Regions from separate parts of the Homo sapiens genome. Here regions 2 and 3 are each linked to region 1. Evidence: promoter capture Hi-C in 16 types of primary human blood cells and fetal thymus (Javierre and others, 2016). All regions are on one chromosome and are shown on one strand. The core of a region is centred on a gene start or on the middle of the fragment in contact, and the rest is flanking DNA. Distances in the headings are between cores, read along the strand shown. Region 1 holds the start of MED8-AS1 (MED8 antisense RNA 1). Region 2 overlaps ERMAP (erythroblast membrane associated protein (Scianna blood group)). Region 3 holds the start of CCDC24 (coiled-coil domain containing 24).

Evidence for each region. Contacts are between HindIII fragments. The CHiCAGO score rates a contact against its expected background, and 5 or more counts as called.
Region 2: a contact is called between a fragment that was not itself captured here and the fragment with the promoter of MED8-AS1 in region 1, in 1 of 17 cell types (erythroblasts). The highest score is 6.9, in erythroblasts.
Region 3: a contact is called between the fragment with the promoter of CCDC24 here and the fragment with the promoter of MED8-AS1 in region 1, in 1 of 17 cell types (total B cells). The highest score is 5.1, in total B cells.

The regions. Positions count from the first base shown.
Region 1 is chr1:43,383,778-43,386,477 of GRCh38, forward strand. MED8-AS1 (MED8 antisense RNA 1) reads left to right here and starts at 1,272. Exons shown (of 2, transcript XR_001738027.1): 1 at 1,272-1,364; 2 at 1,507-1,949. It overlaps MED8 (mediator complex subunit 8), which reads right to left. Exons shown (of 7, transcript NM_201542.5): 6 at 2,201-2,449; 7 at 140-1,329. The coding sequence ends at 1,265. The HindIII fragment of the contact is 5,225 bases long and covers 719-2,700 here.
Region 2 is chr1:42,822,848-42,825,547 of GRCh38, forward strand. All of the region lies in intron 1 of ERMAP (erythroblast membrane associated protein (Scianna blood group)), which reads left to right. Among named protein-coding and RNA genes, the nearest start is that of SVBP, 6.8 kb to the left of the region's middle. The HindIII fragment of the contact is 2,034 bases long and covers 315-2,348 here.
Region 3 is chr1:43,990,169-43,992,868 of GRCh38, forward strand. It overlaps CCDC24 (coiled-coil domain containing 24), which reads left to right and starts at 1,431. Exons shown (of 9, transcript NM_152499.4): 1 at 1,431-1,578; 2 at 1,679-1,836; 3 at 2,044-2,219; 4 at 2,355-2,471. The coding sequence starts at 1,711. B4GALT2 (beta-1,4-galactosyltransferase 2) reads left to right here. Exons shown (of 7, transcript NM_003780.5): 7 at 130-1,000. The coding sequence ends at 280. RefSeq lists silencers at 1,585-1,694, 1,835-1,884. The HindIII fragment of the contact is 1,600 bases long and covers 767-2,366 here.

The DNA.
Region 1 (2,700 bases), core at 22-2,521:
ATCAAAGCTAATTAAAGATACGGAAACTTTTTTATGGAGAACAAATTAGAACTGCCTTGCAGCACTCTTGAAACTGCCCCTCTGATCCCTATGTAGTGCTCTCATAAATTACTGTCAGACAACCCTGAGCCAGTGAACATCAATTTAAATAACTTTATTCAGAGGAATCCTTTGGTCCACTTCTGCTGACTCAACCCCTGCCCATGCCAACAAAGGAGTACTAAGAAAGGCAGGTTAGCCTGAATGTCTAAATTCAATTTGTTCAACTTTATAAAAGCAGGCAAAGCTACTGGGGGTTGCCCCCTCCCACCATCATTCTGGTCCACCATTTGGGCCACAGGCTTAGGGAAATGAAGGAAAGTCGTTTTCTTTGAAGGAAATCCTGGCCAAAGTCGAGAAAGTGGGCACCATTATGAGGTCAACTAAACCCTGATGGCAGTGTGAAGTGCAATTCCCTTCTCCCTCCAAAATAAGAAACATGAATCCAGGGGAAGGGGCTTTTTCGTGTGCTAAGGAAAAACCCTTTCCCACATAGTCCTGCCTGGCAGAGCCACTTCCTGAGAAAGCCTCGTGTGTATAAGGTGGGGTAAAGGATAGGGGACTTTATGACTATTTGACAGGTAAAAGCCAAGTTGGCTCCTTAGAGGATGGAAAGGAGAGCAGGCCCAAGCTTCACCAGAGCTGCAGGTGGGCATTTTTTTTTCCTTCCTGGCCCAGAAGCTTCTTCACCTTGCGCCTTAGAGGGATAGCCAGAATGAAACCCAGGCAGGAGGGCCTGCAAAAACAGTGTGCCTCTAAGAACACAGAGGTTGCTACAGTTTCTGGCAGCACAAAATAAGCATAGCCTTATTTGATCTTGTGTCCATCAGCTCACCATTGACGTGAGGCAGTATCAGATTAGGGTAAGTTCTGGATCAAGGACTGTGGAGGGTGGTGGGGAGAAGGATCTGTAGAAACTATCATTTATTGAATACCCATTATTTCATATACTGTACTAAGTGCTTTACATTCATTTCCTCATTTTAATCCTCACAACAACCCTATGAGGTAGGTATTATCACCATTTACAAATGAGAAACAGGCTCAGAAAAATTAGGTCACTTGTCCAAGGTCACACAGCTAGTCAGTGGTGGAAGTGGGATTTGTCTGCTGCTGAAAGCCCATGTTCTTTTTATTGTACCCATCTAGGTGAGCCTTGAGCAAAAGGTAATTTCACTGCCCAACTCTGCAAAGAGCACCAGGGAGTCGAGGTTGCCAGCCACACTCACCGCTGGTAGGGATGCATGGAAGCCGACTTGATGTTGGTTTTTATTCCACTTGGCATTTTCCCTGAAAGGAACATTAAAAAAGTCATCTTAAGCAAGGTAAGACTTTCATGACAAATCAGAAATGTGGTACCTCAGGTTCCCTCTGTCACTTCCTTTATCATCTCAGAACCTCTGCGGCATCTGACCCTGTTTGACAGAGGTCAGAAGTATGATTCTTCACCCAGCTGTCTCCCTGAAGGTGTCCAGGAGGAAAGAAGTGACATGGGAGAATAGTCTGTTCATCCACTCCTAGAACAGATAGCTAAACCTGTGTGACTCCCATTTAACGTCACAGGTAAAAGAGTACTATGTTCTCTCATTGTTTTTCTTTTTTTATATCATAATAAGTGCAGAATCTCTCTTTAATTGTCCCTTTTCCTAGACAGCTTGGAGGAAATAACTCTTCTAGCTGCCTGCATCTAGACTGTTCTAAAAATGAGTAGGAGAGAAGGCAGGAAGCCAAGAGCAAGAGAGGCAGGATACAGAGAAAAGAATACATGTAGGACTGGAAAACTGGCCTGCGTGTCAATTCCTGATGCACCTACCAAATGGTCTTAAGATCTGACTGCTGATTTCTCTACCTAACAAGAGACACTGACAACATATCTAATACCAGAATAAATGGGATAGAAGGATAGTTGACACAGAGATGTGAGATGCGGATGAGAAATTGGAGCAGTTTCTGTTACTCAAAGTTCTTCCTCACTCTCTGGTGCCTGTTGCAGAGTCTCAGATGAGATTTTTTTACTTCTGAAAATTATTTCCTGGGTCACAGTGAAAAGGAGAAATAGAGAAAACCTCTAGGTCTAGAGATGCTGGAGGCCCAGATAATCTAGCTTATTCCCTCCCACTCCTGCTCAAAGTCAGCTTCATTTCAACCCCTGCCACCTTACCTGGTTGACCTGCCTGAGCCATTTGTACCCCACTGAGCATTGGCTGCTGCTGGCTTGGAGCTCCTGCCATCTGCACCTGCTGTAATCCTGAGGTTCCTGCAAGGATCGTCCCAGCTCCTGGCTGGCCTGCCTGGCCAGGACCACTGCTGCCTGAAGGTCTCCAATTAGATAGTCCTTTCCCAAAGGCAACAGCTGCCACCAAGGCATTAGTGTCTGTAGGGTTAAAGGTCTGCTTGTTCGGCCGGAGACCTGAAGAAAAAGTAATGGGGATCCTGAAGTATGCTTCTGATGCAGGACTGAACGTGGCAGCTGGAAGACCAGTATGAGTGCCAGGGTTTGGAGTTCTGAATTCAGCAACATCTAGACTCCCTCACAGCCCAGAAAAAGAGCCAGAGGACCCCCAAGCCTATCTCAGAATTCTCTCTTCTTACTTTGCCCATTTCCTCCACTGCTTCAGTGCTGGCCTTAAATACAAAAGGCTAACAGAATGGATACAAACC
Region 2 (2,700 bases), core at 82-2,581, 560 kb before region 1:
TAACTATGAGTGAGAACATGTGGTGTTTAACTTTCTGTGCCTGACTTATTTCATATAACGTAATGTTTTCTAGTTCCATCCATGTCACTTTGAATGATGGGATTTTATTCTTTTTAATGGCTATAAATATTTTAGATGTCTGGCTTAATAGAAGACAGCTGTATTCTCAAGCCAGCTATATCTTTCAATCTGCTGCAGTATGTTTTGTGGTTGAAGTGTATGCAATTGGAAAAGGAGCATTTCAGTAGCTTTTTCAGATAATCGTGGATATTCTTTGATAAGACACCAAAACTCAGCAAGTGGTAGTTTTTTAAAGCTTAGTTGTGACATGAAATCTGAAACCATAGCAATGACCTTTTTATACTCTATTACAGCAACACTCACAGTTTTTTCTTGCATTTTAAATGAATGTTTTACCCATGCAGGGTTTTGTCAACACACCCATTGGTCATTTGGAAATTGCTGAGTCACTGAGTTTTACAGATCTTCTAAATGTTGACACATTTCATTATACAACATCAAAAAATCACATTTATTAATATCAATGCCAATCTCATCAGAAAAGTCTTTTGCTATTGTGAGGGTATCAAGCAGCAGATAAAAATTTTCCAAAATTCTAATTTTTGCTCAAAAGATTGAATGTTCTCATTGACAACAAACACTGTCAGTTGCTTTTCCTGAAGTGACAGGTGCACTTTATTCATTTTGGAGAAAATGCCTGCCAAATACCCAAGTCTGAATAATTATACTTTGTCTTTCAGCTGTACTTTCAGGTAAGAATGGTGCTCCATGAGTCAAGCGATTACTTCAGCTCACAACTCAATCACTTAAGGTTTTTTCCTCGATAAAGTCATCATACTTTGATATGCAGCGTAACTGTTTATGCATCCTTCCCATTTTGTCACACAAACTATTAAAAAGATGTGTATCTAAGAGTTGAAATTTAATAAAATTTGTAACTTCTACTACAGTTTGGTGCCACTTCCTGATTTGTGCTAGCTGTTTTACCCACTATTGCTTTTGCAGTGTCCTTGAAAATGTCAATACCGTGAAAAAGGCAAATAACGTCTTTATTATGATGAATGTAGTTTTAACCTGGATGATAGGGCCTCAGGGACTTCAAGTGTTTGTGGACCACACATTAAGAACTGGTGCTCTAGAGAAATTCTTGCACATGTGAGCAGGAAATACCTATCAAGAATGTTCAGGGCACGAGGCCGGGCGCGGTGGCTCACGCCTGTAATCCCAGCACTTTGGGAGGCCGAGGCGGGCGGATCACAAGGTCAGGAGATCAAGACCATCCTGGCTAACACGGTGAAACCCCGTCTCTACTAAAAATACAAAAAAAAAAATAGCTGGGCGTGGTGGCGGGCGTCTGTAGTCCCAGCTACTCCGGAGGCTGAGGCAGGAGAATGGCATGAGCCCAGGAGGCGGAGCTTGCAGTGAGCCGAGATCGTACCACTGCACTCCAGCCTGGGCGACGGAGCGAGACTCTGTCTCAAAAAAAAAAAAAGAATGTTCAGGACAGTATTATTTATAAAAGCTAAAGCCCAGAAACAACCCACATTTCTATCATTAAGGGACGAGAGAAACTGTTGGTAGATTTATATAATGGTCTACTATATAGCAGTGAATGAATATCCTAGTGCTCTGTGAAACAACCTGGATTAATTTCAGTGTCTTAATTTGTACACCCCCAGAACAGAGTGTGAGGTGTGAGACAAGTACTTCAGTTCAAGAGTGTATTTAGGAGGTAATCCCAGGAAGCAGAAATGGGAATGAGCAAAAAAGGAAGAAAAGTCAATAAAAGGTGCAGTACGGAGCTACTTACCACTATGAACCACCGTGCTCACTCCCATTGGGAACACTCAGAGGAATCATGTCGAATACAGCTCAGAGCTGAAGGTGCAAGCCTGGAGCATTTTGTCTTGACTCCTCTCACTGTTGTTTATGTCTCCGAGGTGTTAGCTTTGGTGAACTTCTGGGCTGCACAGCCTTCCAAGGCTTTGTAGAAAGCCCCAAGACAGGCAAGCAGAAAAATGCCATGGCCTATGAGGTGACATGCTAGCAGCTTGCCTGCAAGTCTCAGCTACACCAAAATTGGGTGGGCTGAGGGGACATGGTGTGGGCCACCACAGATGTCTGCTAGACTCAGAAGCTAATGTTGAATAAAAAAAGGGAATAATTGGGAATTATGTACAATGGGCTCCATCTTTATAAAGTTCAAAGGACATAAAAATGTGTAATGTATTGTTAATGATATAATTATGGAGATTATGAACATACAGCTAAGGATATTATGAAAGCAAGACAGGCGGGAAGCGTTTATCACATGTTGGAAAACAGCAAGCTTGCTTATCAGAAGGCACATGTCAGGGTGTAGCTGGAGATAAAGATAGTGAGTTAAAGAAGGTGGTTAATTGGTGGATGTCTTTGAAACCAATCTTCCAATTTACTCTGATTTGAAAAGTAAAGGGGGAAGGTTTTCAGAAAGAATGTGATAGGATCAAAACGCATCAGAGGGAATTACTATTGGCAGCATTGGAGGAAAAGGGAGTGGAGGGGCAAACGTGCCTCCTACCCGGTCAGTCATACTCAGTGGTTCCCTCATTTTTGGGAGCCTCCTCTTTGCTCTGTTCTTTTATCAGGGGCATACAGACAGGGTGTGGCTTGCTGGTTTACAGGGACAGCGAGAAGGGA
Region 3 (2,700 bases), core at 181-2,680, 610 kb after region 1:
CCCTGTTTTTAAGGTTCCCTGGGGTCCCCTTGGCCAAAAGGGGGTCCATTTAGTTGGTTGGGGGGTGTAGGATTTTATTTTTAGTTTACAGTTGTTAGCCCTGATGTGGACCATTTCCATCCTATCTAGGTTTACCAAGATTCAAAACACGAAGCTGACCATGAAGCGGGACGGCATTGGGTCAGTGCGGTACCAGGTCTTGGAGGTGTCTCGGCAACCACTCTTCACCAATATCACAGTGGACATTGGGCGGCCTCCGTCGTGGCCCCCTCGGGGCTGACACTAATGGACAGAGGCTCTCGGTGCCGAAGATTGCCTGCCAGAGGACTGACCACAGCCTGGCTGGCAGCTGCTCTGTGGAGGACCTCCAGGACTGAGACTGGGCTCTGTTTTCCAAGGGTCTTCACTAGGCCCCCTAGCTACACCTGGAAGTTTCAGAACCCACTTTGGGGGGCCTCCTGCCTGGGCAGGCTCTTCAAGTGTGGCCCTCTTTGGAGTCAACCCTCCTTCCCGACCCCCTCCCCCTAGCCCAGCCCCAGTCACTGTCAGGGTCGGGCCAGCCCCTGCACTGCCTCGCAGAGTGGCCTGGGCTAGGTCACTCCACCTCTCTGTGCCTCAGTTTCCCCCCCTTGAGTCCCCTAGGGCCTGGAAGGGTGGGAGGTATGTCTAGGGGGCAGTGTCTCTTCCAGGGGGAATTCTCAGCTCTTGGGAACCCCCTTGCTCCCAGGGGAGGGGAAACCTTTTTCATTCAACATTGTAGGGGGCAAGCTTTGGTGCGCCCCCTGCTGAGGAGCAGCCCCAGGAGGGGACCAGAGGGGATGCTGTGTCGCTGCCTGGGATCTTGGGGTTGGCCTTTGCATGGGAGGCAGGTGGGGCTTGGATCAGTAAGTCTGGTTCCCGCCTCCCTGTCTGAGAGAGGAGGCAGGAGCCCCAGGGCCGGCTTGTGTTTGTACATTGCACAGAAACTTGTGTGGGTGCTTTAGTAAAAAACGTGAATGGAGCAGCTCCCTTGTCTGTTTGGGGGTGGGGGTCGGGTCCCTGAACGTGGTTACCCTGAGTGTGTTGTGGTGGAAGGGCACTTGGGGAACCTGGCCCAACAAGTAAACCTGACCCGGGCCATCCTGGTTCTCCAAGCGCTGCCACTCCCTAGGCTTTCACTGGCCTTAAGGGGAAGTTTGTCCTTGCACTGCTTCCGGGACAGTGGAGGCGACGAAGTAATAAACCCGTGGACCCAGATTTCTCAGGTCTTAACACGTTCCCTGAGGCCTAAAGGTGCCCAGGGCCGAGCCCAAAGTGCTTGGGTCAGGGCTCGGTGGAGCGCCGAGGTGAGTCTGAACTCCCAGCCGGCACGCGCCGCCCGCCGGACCAAACACGGGAGGGGGCGGGGCCCTAGAGTCGCGGCGTGGTTTCCCGGGTGATGGCCACGCGGAAGAGGTGGGGCTAGGGCCCTGGTTCCCACTGCCTGGTTTCTGGGCCCCCGGCATCCGAGTCGGCCAAAAGCCGGGCAGAAGAGAGCGCCAAGGACTGGCAGTTCCGGAACGGGCAATCCCAGCCGAGGGGACCAGCGGCAGAGCACGGGTGGGGCTTGGGAGAGGGCGGGGCCCATAGAGGGGCGGGGTTTGGTGAGCGTTGCCGGCGGGCCCGCGGTACCTCCCGCACTCTGACCTGCGGCCCGTAGGTCCGAGCCGGGGACGGCGGCGTCGGTGGGTCATGCTCCGGCACTCCCCCTCGCTGTGGGAGCTGGTGGAGGAGCACGTTCCGCTCCGGGAGCGACGCGAAGTGAAGAGGATTCTGGGGGAGGCGGCGGTGGACCTGAGCCTGGAGCTGCGGGCGGAGGTGGGGAGAGGGAAGGTGGGCCACGCCCCTGGCCTGCCCCACGACTCGGGTGATTTCCCACCTCTGCGGGTCCCTGGCCCTGCCGGGTAACTCCCGAGATCCTATCCTGGTCTCCCCTTTGACTCCGCCCTCTCCCTCACTCCCCCAGCCCCCACCATTCCGGACACTCCCCTCCCCAGTCGCAAGGTATCCCAGCTCTCCTTGCAGGTGGCGATGTTACGGGCACTGCTCCAAGAGGCTCGATCCTCTCAAGCCCCCAGCTCCCGCCCCATCTCTGACCCCTCTTCTCTTCTGGCACCACCGCCTCTCCTAAAGGACCTCTTGCGCCAGGAGCTCCGGCAGTTGCTCCAGGGTCTCCGCCACAAAGCCATCTGTGAGGGCAGGTGGGAGCCTCAGGCCTGGGCCCTTTCCCTAGATACCAGGTGGGCTAGCGCTGCCCCTAACAAGGAGCCAGGGTTGCCTTTTCTGTGGTTTCCAGAAAGGAGCCTCTCAGCTTCCTTCCTGTGCACCTTCTGCAGGGACCAGGCCCAAGCTTGGGTCCAGTATAGCCCCAGGGTCCTGCACTTTGCCTTGGAGGAGCCCAGGTGTGATTTGCCAGAACAGGAGATATTCCAGATGAGAGGTGGTGGGCCCAGGTAAGGTGATGGTAGGAGAGAGGGATCTGTCCCTGCTTGGCAGAGGGCCCTAGCCCACTGGTGGGTTGCACCTGGCTCCATGCAGGAGATTCCAGTCACGGGCTGGGCACTTCCACCGCCACTTGTGATAGAGATTATCAGCCCATGAGGGCTACTGAAACCCAGAGGAAACACCTGCCTAGCCTGGGGACAGGCAAAGCTTCCTGGAGAAAGTGGTTTGATCTGCGTG